Regions from separate parts of the Homo sapiens genome. Here all the other regions are linked to region 3. The links are contacts of gene promoters, found by promoter capture Hi-C in blood cells and fetal thymus (Javierre and others, 2016). All regions are on one chromosome and are shown on one strand. Each heading gives the region's core, a stretch centred on a gene start or on the middle of the fragment in contact. The rest is flanking DNA. Distances are from core to core; before and after follow the strand shown.

What was found. The method cuts DNA at HindIII sites, captures the fragments that hold promoters and counts their contacts. A CHiCAGO score of 5 or more calls a contact.
Region 1: a fragment that was not itself captured here is called in contact with the fragment with the promoter of LRFN5 in region 3 in 1 of 17 cell types (endothelial precursors); the score reaches 5.0 in endothelial precursors.
Region 2: a contact is called between a fragment that was not itself captured here and the fragment with the promoter of LRFN5 in region 3, in 1 of 17 cell types (M0 macrophages). The highest score is 5.4, in M0 macrophages.

The regions. Positions count from the first base shown.
Region 1 is chr14:44,788,618-44,791,880 of GRCh38, forward strand. The region is part of intron 2 of LINC02302 (long intergenic non-protein coding RNA 2302); the gene reads right to left. Among named protein-coding and RNA genes, the nearest start is that of LINC02302, 8.9 kb to the right of the region's middle. The HindIII fragment of the contact is 438 bases long and covers 1,521-1,958 here.
Region 2 is chr14:44,815,247-44,818,639 of GRCh38, forward strand. No RefSeq gene overlaps it. Among named protein-coding and RNA genes, the nearest start is that of LINC02302, 18 kb to the left of the region's middle. The HindIII fragment of the contact is 706 bases long and covers 1,398-2,103 here.
Region 3 is chr14:41,605,110-41,608,554 of GRCh38, forward strand. LRFN5 (leucine rich repeat and fibronectin type III domain containing 5) reads left to right here and starts at 1,767. Exons shown (of 6, transcript NM_152447.5): 1 at 1,767-3,445. The HindIII fragment of the contact is 1,232 bases long and covers 1,398-2,629 here.

The sequences.
Region 1 (3,263 bases), core at 490-2,989, 3.2 Mb after region 3:
AGTGGATTGAGGTTTGTAATGTGTATCAAAATGCAAATTTTATTTTGATAGACTTTATGTCACTCCAATTGCCCCACTGGAATGTCTATATGAAAATACTAAAATCTACTGCATCAAAATGTTAAAACTTGTTGCTCTAAAACAAATATAACTTGACTGCCTATGAGCTTGGGGTGAGTCATTTATCCTATTATTCTCCCACAGGGAATCTGACTGCATTCAAACTACCCAGTTGGAGAATTCAGCTACCTTTGGAAAAGCTGCTATCAAAAAAGGAAGAGGAGCTCTCCTATCCTGCACAGGAGTTTGAATATGGCCTGCGGTGGCCATCATCACCTCTTCACAGCTAAGAATGCCAGAGTAGGTGTGGTGCCACCTCCTTCAGATACTTTTAGCATTTGTGAATTCACTATTGTAGAAGATGAGAGAATGGATTTTAGCATGTTCATGCTTGTTTTCAAAGTAAAACCATTTGATTTAGCCTACTTTATAGGTCCACAGTATTTTAAGTAAATAAATGATGACAACTGTCTCTTTTATAGAACTTTATCTAAAAAAACTTACAACATATGCTTCTATAATACTTACATAGCAGATATTGTTTCAAATACCCTAAAACTATTAATTCATTCAATCTGTCTGCCAATCCTAGCAGGTGAGTGTCATTATCACTTTACAAGAAAACTAAGCAACATGAAGCTAAGTAATTTGCCCAGCATCACACAACTGGTAAGCAGTAAAACCAAGATTCAGACCTGACAGTGTGGCCTCCATACCCTGCACTTTTAACCATGATGTTATGCTGTTTAAAGCAAGTTCTCAGTGCTATGATCTCTTCAAATGAAGCATGGCTAAAAATGTGAATCTGTTATTCTACAGATATTTAACTGTGCATAAGCAAGGCACTGCCAATGACAGGTAGCCAAGGTACTTACCCAGTGATAGGAAATGAAAGACATAAATCCACAGAGACATATTTAGCACTACTGACTTGTAAACAATAGTTAAATAAGCCAAATATGTAGAACAAAAACTCCATGAGTTAAGAAGAAAAACTTCTAAACCAAGGTTATTAGCAAAGGATTCAAAGTGAGAGGGGGATTGAGGTGTCCTTGAAAAAAATGAATAGGATTTGAGAAAAAGAAAGGCATAGAAAGGTCAGCTTGAACCAAGGACATGAAGAAAGAAAGCAAAGTTCTGTTAACAGAACAGCAAATCACATCAACTGCTGGAGAAGCAGATTCACCAATATCAACAGATGGTCTAAGCATTTCTTTCTTTAAATATATAATGTTCTTTGAGTATCTTGGAAAAAGTAAGTATTTAAATTAAGCCTGAAAACAGAGTAAAATGCAAATCCATCCTACTTTTATTTTTCATTTGACTCATTGGATATCAAGGCCTTTCCTTGGCCTTTTAATTCTGTAATCTCCAAAATTCTACACAAGCAGTTTCTGTGTAACAAAGGATATCCGCATTATTATTTTGGTTCCTTTTATGTATTTGAACATCAAAATGCAAGCTTATAGTCTTAATCCCCAGTTTTGTTTTATAAGCGATTACACAAGTGTCATTTTCAGATGTGTATTAGGCTTATTCTGTCAGAAGTGGCTTAGGGAGTATCAAAATGTAGTTATCCCTAACTTTTTAATTTACAGGAACAACAAATAAAACTAAATGAACTTAGATTGCTAACAAGTTTTTGCCTATGAACAAACTGTGCAATCACAAGCTACAGACTAAAAATCTGTAATATTTTGTGGCAAACTCCCTCTTCTCACATATGTATAGATATTATAACCCCTGTGCAGGAAATGGCAGTAACTGTAGATGTGAGTTTTAGATGTGCTAATATCCATGCTGAGTGAGAATACTAGCTGTTAGATGGGCACATATCAAGCATGTGGGACCCTGATGTGTGTGAGCTGAGTGGTTGATAGGCTATAAAGGGAAGAGGAAGCTTTAAGAAAGGCTGAAAGTTGAGAAAAATAAGAATATTAAGGTCTACAAAACTATTTTGCAAAAGACTTCGTGAAAGCAAAGAAAATACTTTAGAAGCACTGGGTTCCTTCAGCATGTGCCTTGAGTCACTTTTGTCTGTATCCACCTGGGCACTTTAAATAGGGACAAGCAAAAGTGCTATGCTAAACTTTATGCACTACACACAGAATTCGGAAGTCAAACAGTCCTGGCTCTGTCACTTAGCTGTGTGATCTGGCAGGTTATTTAACTGCCTTACTCTCAATTTCCTAATCTATAAGAAATGGAAGGATATATCCCAGATTAAAAAGGCAACTAAGTGCCCAATGTTAGGAACAAGCCACACATACACACAAACACACACACACACACACACCCCCCAAGACTCATCACTGTGAAGTTCAGAACACTGATAAGAAAGATTATAGAAGGATCCAGAAAGAGAAATACATATATATATATATATATATATATATATATATCTCATAGGAGAGAGGACAGCTCCATGCATGTTATTGTCCCTGAAGACCTTCCAGTGGGACAAGACGTGGAGGTGGAAAACAAGGATATTGATGATTCTGATCCTCCGTATTTGTATTAGTCCATTTTCATATTGCTATAAAGAAGTACCCGAGGTTTGGTAATTTATAAAGAAAAAGAGGTTTCATGGACTCACAATTCCACATGGCTGGGGAGGCCTCACAATCATGGCAGAAGGTGAAGGAGAAGCAAAGGCACGTCTTACATGGTGGCAGGCAAGAGAGCATGTGCAGGGGAACTGCCCTTTATAAAACCATCAGATCTCATAAGACTTATTCACTATCACGAGAACAGCATGGGGAAAACCTGCCCCATGATTCCGTTACCTCCCACCAGGTCCCTCCCACGACATCTGGGGATTATGGGAGCTATTATTCAAGATGAGATTGGGGTGGGGACACAGCCAAACCATATCAGTATGCCCAGGCTAATGTGTGTATTTGTGTTATTTTTGTTTATTTAACAAAAAAGTTTTTTAAAAAATAATAGTAAAGAAATAAATCATTTTAAAATGGAAAAAGCTTATGAATAAGGATATAAAGAAAAAATATTTTTGTATAGCTGTACTATATTTCTGCATACCTGTACAATGTATTTTAAACTAAGTATTTTTACAAAACAGTCAAAAAGTTTTAAAATATTTTAAAACTTTATAAGGTTAAAAAAAGTTATAGTAAGCTAAGTTTGATTTATTACTGAAGAAAGAAATACTTTTTACAAATTTGGTATAGCCTAACTGTACG
Region 2 (3,393 bases), core at 501-3,000, 3.2 Mb after region 3:
TTGAACCAAGCTTAGCACTATATTAGGACTATGGTAATACAAACATTTTAATCTCAGTTTAAAATACCATTATAGCACAAATGTAAAAATAAAGCAAAATGGCAAGAAACTTTTAAAAAATTCTTTTATTATTTTTTAAAAAGTAAAATAAAGAAGAGAATCTAGGCAGTACTCCACAGCCTCTTCTAGACACACACATAGCTACAAATATGATTTCAATTATACATATATATATATACACACACACACACATACACACCACGCACCACCCCACACCACCATACACATACACACATTAATAGCAGCTATCTCTTGGTGGTGGATTAATAATTTTTTTATTTAGATATTTGAAAAATTTTTATAATAACTAACTATATATTACCTTGGTAATCAAATACTGAACTACCTTGGTAATCACACATGCATATTTGAAGTCATCTTGACTCCCTAAATGATACCTACTTACTCCAATATACTTATATTTTAAGTACCAAAGGATGCTCTGTATATATTGAATAAATACTGAATCAGGGACATGAACAATATAACCCTATCATAGCTTCTTGGAAAATATAATCTATCCCCTACTCTATTGTAGTAGTCCGTTTTCACACTGCTATAAAGATACTACCCAAGACTGGGTAATTTATAAAAGAAAGAGGTTTGATTGACCCACAGCTCTGCATGGCTGGTGAAGCCTCAGGAAACTTACAATCATGGCAGAAGGCAAAGGGGAAGCAAGGCGCCTTCTTCATAAGGTTGCAGGAGAGAGAGAAGCACCAGTGCAGGACAACTGCCCTTTGTAAAACCATCAGATCTCATGAGACTTACTCACTATCATGAGAATACAAAAGGAAAATTGCCCCCATGATCCAATGACCTCCCACCAGGTTCCTCCCTTAACATGTGGGGATTATGGAGATTACAATTCAAGATGAGATTTGGGTGGGGACATAGAGCCAAATCATATCATCTGTTTATTTTTCTCATAAGAATCAGAACCTCCCCTCCCAATCTCTCATCCCCTCCTCCACACACACACCAGAATCATGATATATAAGCTCTCCACTTCTTACTTACATGTCACAGAGAATTTTGGAAGACAATATCTGAGTCTGAAAGTCTTTATTAGATATTTTTAGATAGGATACCATTGAGATCCCTTCAAATTTCATTATGTGGGACTACATCAACCAATGAAGGGCCAGATTAGGCTCTTTAGAGGCCTGAACACTGAAAAGGTTAAACCCTTCACATGGAATTTTTCAAAGTGACATCAAAAAATCACACACATACTAAAATTAAAATAACCTCTGTCTAACTGTTCTACCTTCAAAGTTCAGGTTTAGAATTCTCTTTTCAGTAGTGGAGGCAGGTGGTTCTTTACTGGTCTCCTAAGCTTGCCAATAGTCCATTCACTGCCTAATCCAGCCATGCACCTAGACAGGAGACAACTCTGCTCGCCTTCTCAGTTCTGCAGTAAATTTTTGACTGCAGATTAGGGAATTGAATTACCAGCACATACTCTATTTGTATAAATTTCCCACTTCACAAAGTCAAGAAGTTTCCAAATTAGCGATAATAACATAATTTCTAAACTGCTGCTTTCTGTCTTTTGAGTTTATTTCTTTTTCTTCCTGTCTGAAGCACACAAAGCCATGCCTACAAGATCAGATATCAGTTCACATATCACTCCTCTCATTTCCATCTCTTACAAAACCATTCTTCTCATCACAAAGCAAGCTAACCAAAAGACTAATTTGGGTGCAGTTGGAATAATTTATTCCTATCTAGCTTTATAAACACATAAGTAATGAAAATTCAAATATATATGTATGTATGCATTTTAGACATTTTAAGATTTGACTGTGAATTAAGAAAGATGCTATCAAAAGAGAGCTTGCATATTGCAGGAAGCAGTTTGGTCAATACTCAAACTCTACAGAATGAAAATGAAGACTGAATCCAGCTGTCTAAGTAATCAATTATCAACAGCTAGAGGTGGGTTTGTGTTTTGCTCAGAGTTTAAGTGTTAGCAATCATAAATTCACAAGTGTCACTAGCATCTAAAGTGAAGAAGAGAGCTTTCGATGCTACTATTTAAGCTTAGTTGACAATAAGGAAAAAGAGAAAAGAAGCTTCATTTGTAATCTGAAAAACCACACATGCACAAAAGAATACATTTCTACCATTACTCTTCCACAGCAGCAGTAACCAAAGAATTTAGAACCAAATGATTCAGGAATTTAAGAGTCCATTAAATAGAGGGAAGAATTAGATCTCCAGTGCACTGCCTTCCCTTTCATTTGAAGTGAGTGTTTGTTACATGTTCTATTTAATATGAAGTGACTAAGACCCACTAATGCTTCAGGTCATCCAGGGAGGGTGCCCATCTGACACTCTCATTGTCACCTTAGCAATGAGGCAGGACTGCCAGGCAATTTCTACTTTATAGCTCTGAGATCTCTAAGCTGTACCTCCAAAAGGAACTGATAGGTAAATTGCCTCTAACCCAATCCTCTTTCATCACCAAATGCATTTCAAAATATAGTTCAGGCTTTTTTTTTCATTTAATCAAACAAAAATACTTGCAGAAACACATTAATATACAACATGAATGCTACCTTATTAATGTATAATTGTGATAGCCCAGCCTTTCATGCATATGTTTATATTGTTGCTATCAGACTGAGTCTATAAAGAGGCTGATTTTATACGTGAGTAAAAATCCAGGATCACCACCTGGTACAAAGTTAGGTGTATGCTAAACAGCTCAGCCTTTCAAAATTACTCCTCTTGCCATGAGGGTTGGAAATTTCCACCATTTAAAACTCGCTAATTCTAGGAACCTCTTTGGAATACCCTTGGATGCTATTATAATTAGTTAATAATGAATTCACAAGAATTAGTAATTAAACAATATAAAGTCAGTCATTTATAAAAATAATGTCCCATGTAGAATAAGAGTTCTAAAATTTTCGATTTGATTATGTCATTAAACCATAACAGACTATATCTTAGCGGGTTACTGCTTGGTTTGAATAATTGTGTCCCCTTCAAATTTATGTGGAAACTTAATCCCCAATGCAACAATATTAAGAGGTGAGGCCTTTAGAAGGTGATTAGGCCATGAGGGCTCTGCCCTCTGGATTTGTGCATTATAAAAGGGCTTGAGGGACTGAGTTTGCCCCTTTCATCAAGTGAGGCAGAGGTTGCACAACTGGTTCACAGTCCCTTTTTTCTGGCCCTGGCTGCCTGCATCCCCACTGACCTGGCTTCTGGTGCTGGTGCATCCAGCTGCTGGTTCCATTTTATGGAAAGTTTGGTAGTCTTCGAACATCCTGCTGGTCAGTCTTTCCATAACCTCTCTGTGTCAGGAGAAAAATGGGTTTG
Region 3 (3,445 bases), core at 517-3,016:
CAGTTTGCTGCAGGTTCTCTCCGTGGACTTCTCAGAAACCTCAACTTTCCACTTCGAGGGACAGAAAGCTACAAGGAAAACGCTGATGGTTTTGGTGGAGATTCTCCTGGACTTCAGTGGTGTCCTCTGGTACATCTGTCCGCGGTGTCCCTTTGGTTTATTTCTGTGGTCTTCCTGCGCAGTCCCTCAGCGGCTCGGAGTTTGGCCTTCCAGCTCTCCAACTCAGATCCTGAGCCTCCTAAGCTCCCGCGGAGACCCTGAAGTCCCGGATCTGGCGCCGCTCGCCGACCTGGAGGGAGGCTGCACCGCTGAAGTGCAGTCTCGGAGCTGCGCTCCTCTGGAACAAAGCAGCCAGACGTGGCTTGAGTGGATTCCTAAGCCAAGGATTGGATCCGGAGTACCAGGGGCAGAGAGGGGGAGCAGAGGAAAGAAAGGAGATGTGAGGAGTTTCCACCTAAAGCACTTCACTCCTCGTGTTCTTCCCCGACAGAGATAGCTGTGTGGTTCTTCCTTACGCGTGGGTGCAGGTGTGCGCGCTTGGGGTGAGCCCATGGTTGTGCTCGAGTATACGGGCGCCTGTGCACCTCCAGGGCAATGGTAAAGCCTGGCAGAGCTCTTTTTGGAACAAAATGAAGGAGCTCCATATCCACGGAGGCCACCCGTATGGGCCTTTGCCAAGTAGGGCAGAAGAAGCCCTTGTTAGCCAGCTTCCCTTTGCAACTTCCTACTCTTCCTTTGGGTACAGACTGGTGTCTGGGCTAGCTAGGATCACAGCTGAGAGCGAAGGTGCTCTCAGTGTCCGAAGACCACGTGCTGGTGAACCCACAATGAGAAGCGAAAGGGTTTCAGGACTCTAGCAGAAAGGAAGAGCAAGATTTCACTCAGGGTTTCTTAGAAGAAAGAGTTAACTTTGCTCACTGGCTTTTCCAGGATGGAGGGAGTGGGGATAGGGTCGGGGAGAGAAGCATTGGGAGTCTTGTCGGAGTCTCAAGCAAAACCAGGCGAGGGCTCCGGGCAGATCCATTCCCGCAGGGCCCTGTCTAACCTCCTTTCCAGTCGCACCTCTTTCCTGCTTTAGACCCTGCGTCTGTGCCGGTGACCTTAGAGACTAGGTCTGGCTTATGAAGACTGTTGGGCTCCCTTTCTGCCCTTCACATAGTAAAATGTGACCAACTGCAGTATTCGTAATGTCTGATGCTGAGCTGAGTTGATTCCCAAATATAAATGTTCTTTTCAGAATCCGCTCCCATCTGATTAGTAAGCAAATCACCACCCACAACTAAGGGGACAGCGGAAGCCAGCCTCAGATGACTGAAACCCCCAAGTCAGTAGCTCTCCTCAAAATTTCCGGCGGGTTATTATAGATAATGACTTTTCCCACCGCCCTAAGCAGCCGAAGCTTGACTCAGTGATGATTCTCTCTATCCCGTAACTGCGAGGAAGTGGGCGATCAGCAAATTGCCCTTTTGCAGGAGGCTGGGGACGCCCCTGGAAGTTCGCTTTCATTCTCCAGGTTTTCTGCCTTTTCCCTTCCCCCTTCCTGCAACGCCCCCGCGCCTCCTCAGCCTGGGGATTTCCTGGCGCTTCGCCGGCCCTCTCCGCAACCCCCTGATAAATCGGTTCAGAACCAGTCTGGCTGGGAGGCCCGAGGGCTGACAGCAGCGGAGCGGCCCCGGCCGGGGTCTCACGGACTCTCGGGGTCTGGCCGACACGGCCGCTCCCGTCACTGCAGCGCGGGCTGAGCTCACGGCCGCGCGCCCGCCGCCGCCGCCGCCGCCGCCTTCATGCTGCAGCGCAGGGCTCAGTTCCACGCGGCCAGGAGGCCGCCGTTGCCCACACGCGACGCTTTGGGAAGCCCAGCTCCCGGGTCCGCCCCGGCCGCGGCCGCAGCCCCGGACCTCGGCTGCTTGCCTCGCGCCTGAACTGCGGACTCGCCCCAGCGCGGTGGCCAGCGGGCGGGGCGCTGTGTTCCGCGGCGCGCAGGGAGGCGGTGAGCGTGTGCAGAGCTGCCCGAACGGAGGACTATGTATGTGTGTGCGCGTGTTTGCGTGTGTTTGAGCGTGTTTTTCCTTCTTCCCTTGAGGATGTGAATTGTTTAGCAGCTGGCTGCTCCCTTAGGATCCTTGACTTTGGGGAGCTCTGGCTGTGAACACAGCCCACCCATATAATCCATTTTGCACGGTCCGTTATATCAGAAAAAAAAAGCGCAACTGGACGGGGGTGGGGCAGACCAACGAAACCTAGACAGACACACACACACTCAGAGGAGAGAGGAAGAATTGAAAGACTTGAGAAGACTTTGATAACCTCCCTGCTGGCCCTTCTGTGTTCCGGAAAGATCCTGGATGTTGGCTACCTTTTCAAGTCATCTTGGCATGTCTCTAGTGTTTTGTAAGCCGCTTTCCAGCTAGCTGCGTGTGTGTGTGCGCGCGCGTGTGTACGCGCGCGCCTATCTGATGCATTTGACTGTCTTTTATCCAACTGCCCAGAAGCAAATGTGTTAACTCGGCGATGCCCCTTCATGCCCGGGTTCTTGCAGAGCTCTGAGGACGCCCAGACCCATTTTCCTGGCTGGATTTGGAGCGGCTGCTGGGCTGTGGACCCAGGTGTGTGGATCGCTTTACCCAGAAGCTTGGAAAGCGCCAATATTAACCTGCTTCCAGGTACATCACAAGGTCAAGAGAGTGTCTTGCAGCCCTCTTGTTTCCGTGTATCTACACCTTCTTCTCTTGGCCAGAAGGATATTTACGTTTTGGTTCACAGCATTTGAAGCCAAAAGTTCAGCCCTTCGAACTGGTTTGCTATACAAAACAAAACAAAACAAATAAGGTAATGAGGATTGCTTATTAAACTGCTTAACAAAATCCCCGACTCTTCCTCAGCCCTTTCTCGGCTCCCTCCTCCCCACCAAAATGTCACCAGCTCTTGAATTACGTGGATTCGGGTTGGAGGAGAACTTGAAGGAAACGTGATTAAAGGGCTATGCGAGAACGCTCTCTTTGCTGCCCGCGGTCCGGTGGGCTTCGAAGCCAATCGTGAGAAGGACCGGTTCCCTCCGTGCTGCTTCCTCCCCGTGCAGTGCTGGGTGTGCGTGTGCGAGTGTGAGTGCAAGTGCGCGCGCGCCCGGGTGCGAGTGTGTGTGAGTGTGAGCGTGTGTCTGTGTGTGCGTGCGCGGCCGCCCTGCCTCTGCCCGCTCCCCGGGCGCGGAGCCGCGGGTTTCATGGGGCGATTGCAGCGATTCCCCCACCCAGAGCGACCTGCGGGCAGCGGCGGCAGTGGCAGGAGCCGCCTTTCCGATTCCCTACGATGCGGGTGCTGAGCTATGGCAAAGGGCAGCGAAGTGACGAGCGAGACCCGCGTACGACTGTGAAAGCCACCTGGAGCCACCTTGCCGGGATTGTACCTGCAGGCAGAAAGTCTTCCTACGACCGTCTTTTCCCTTAGA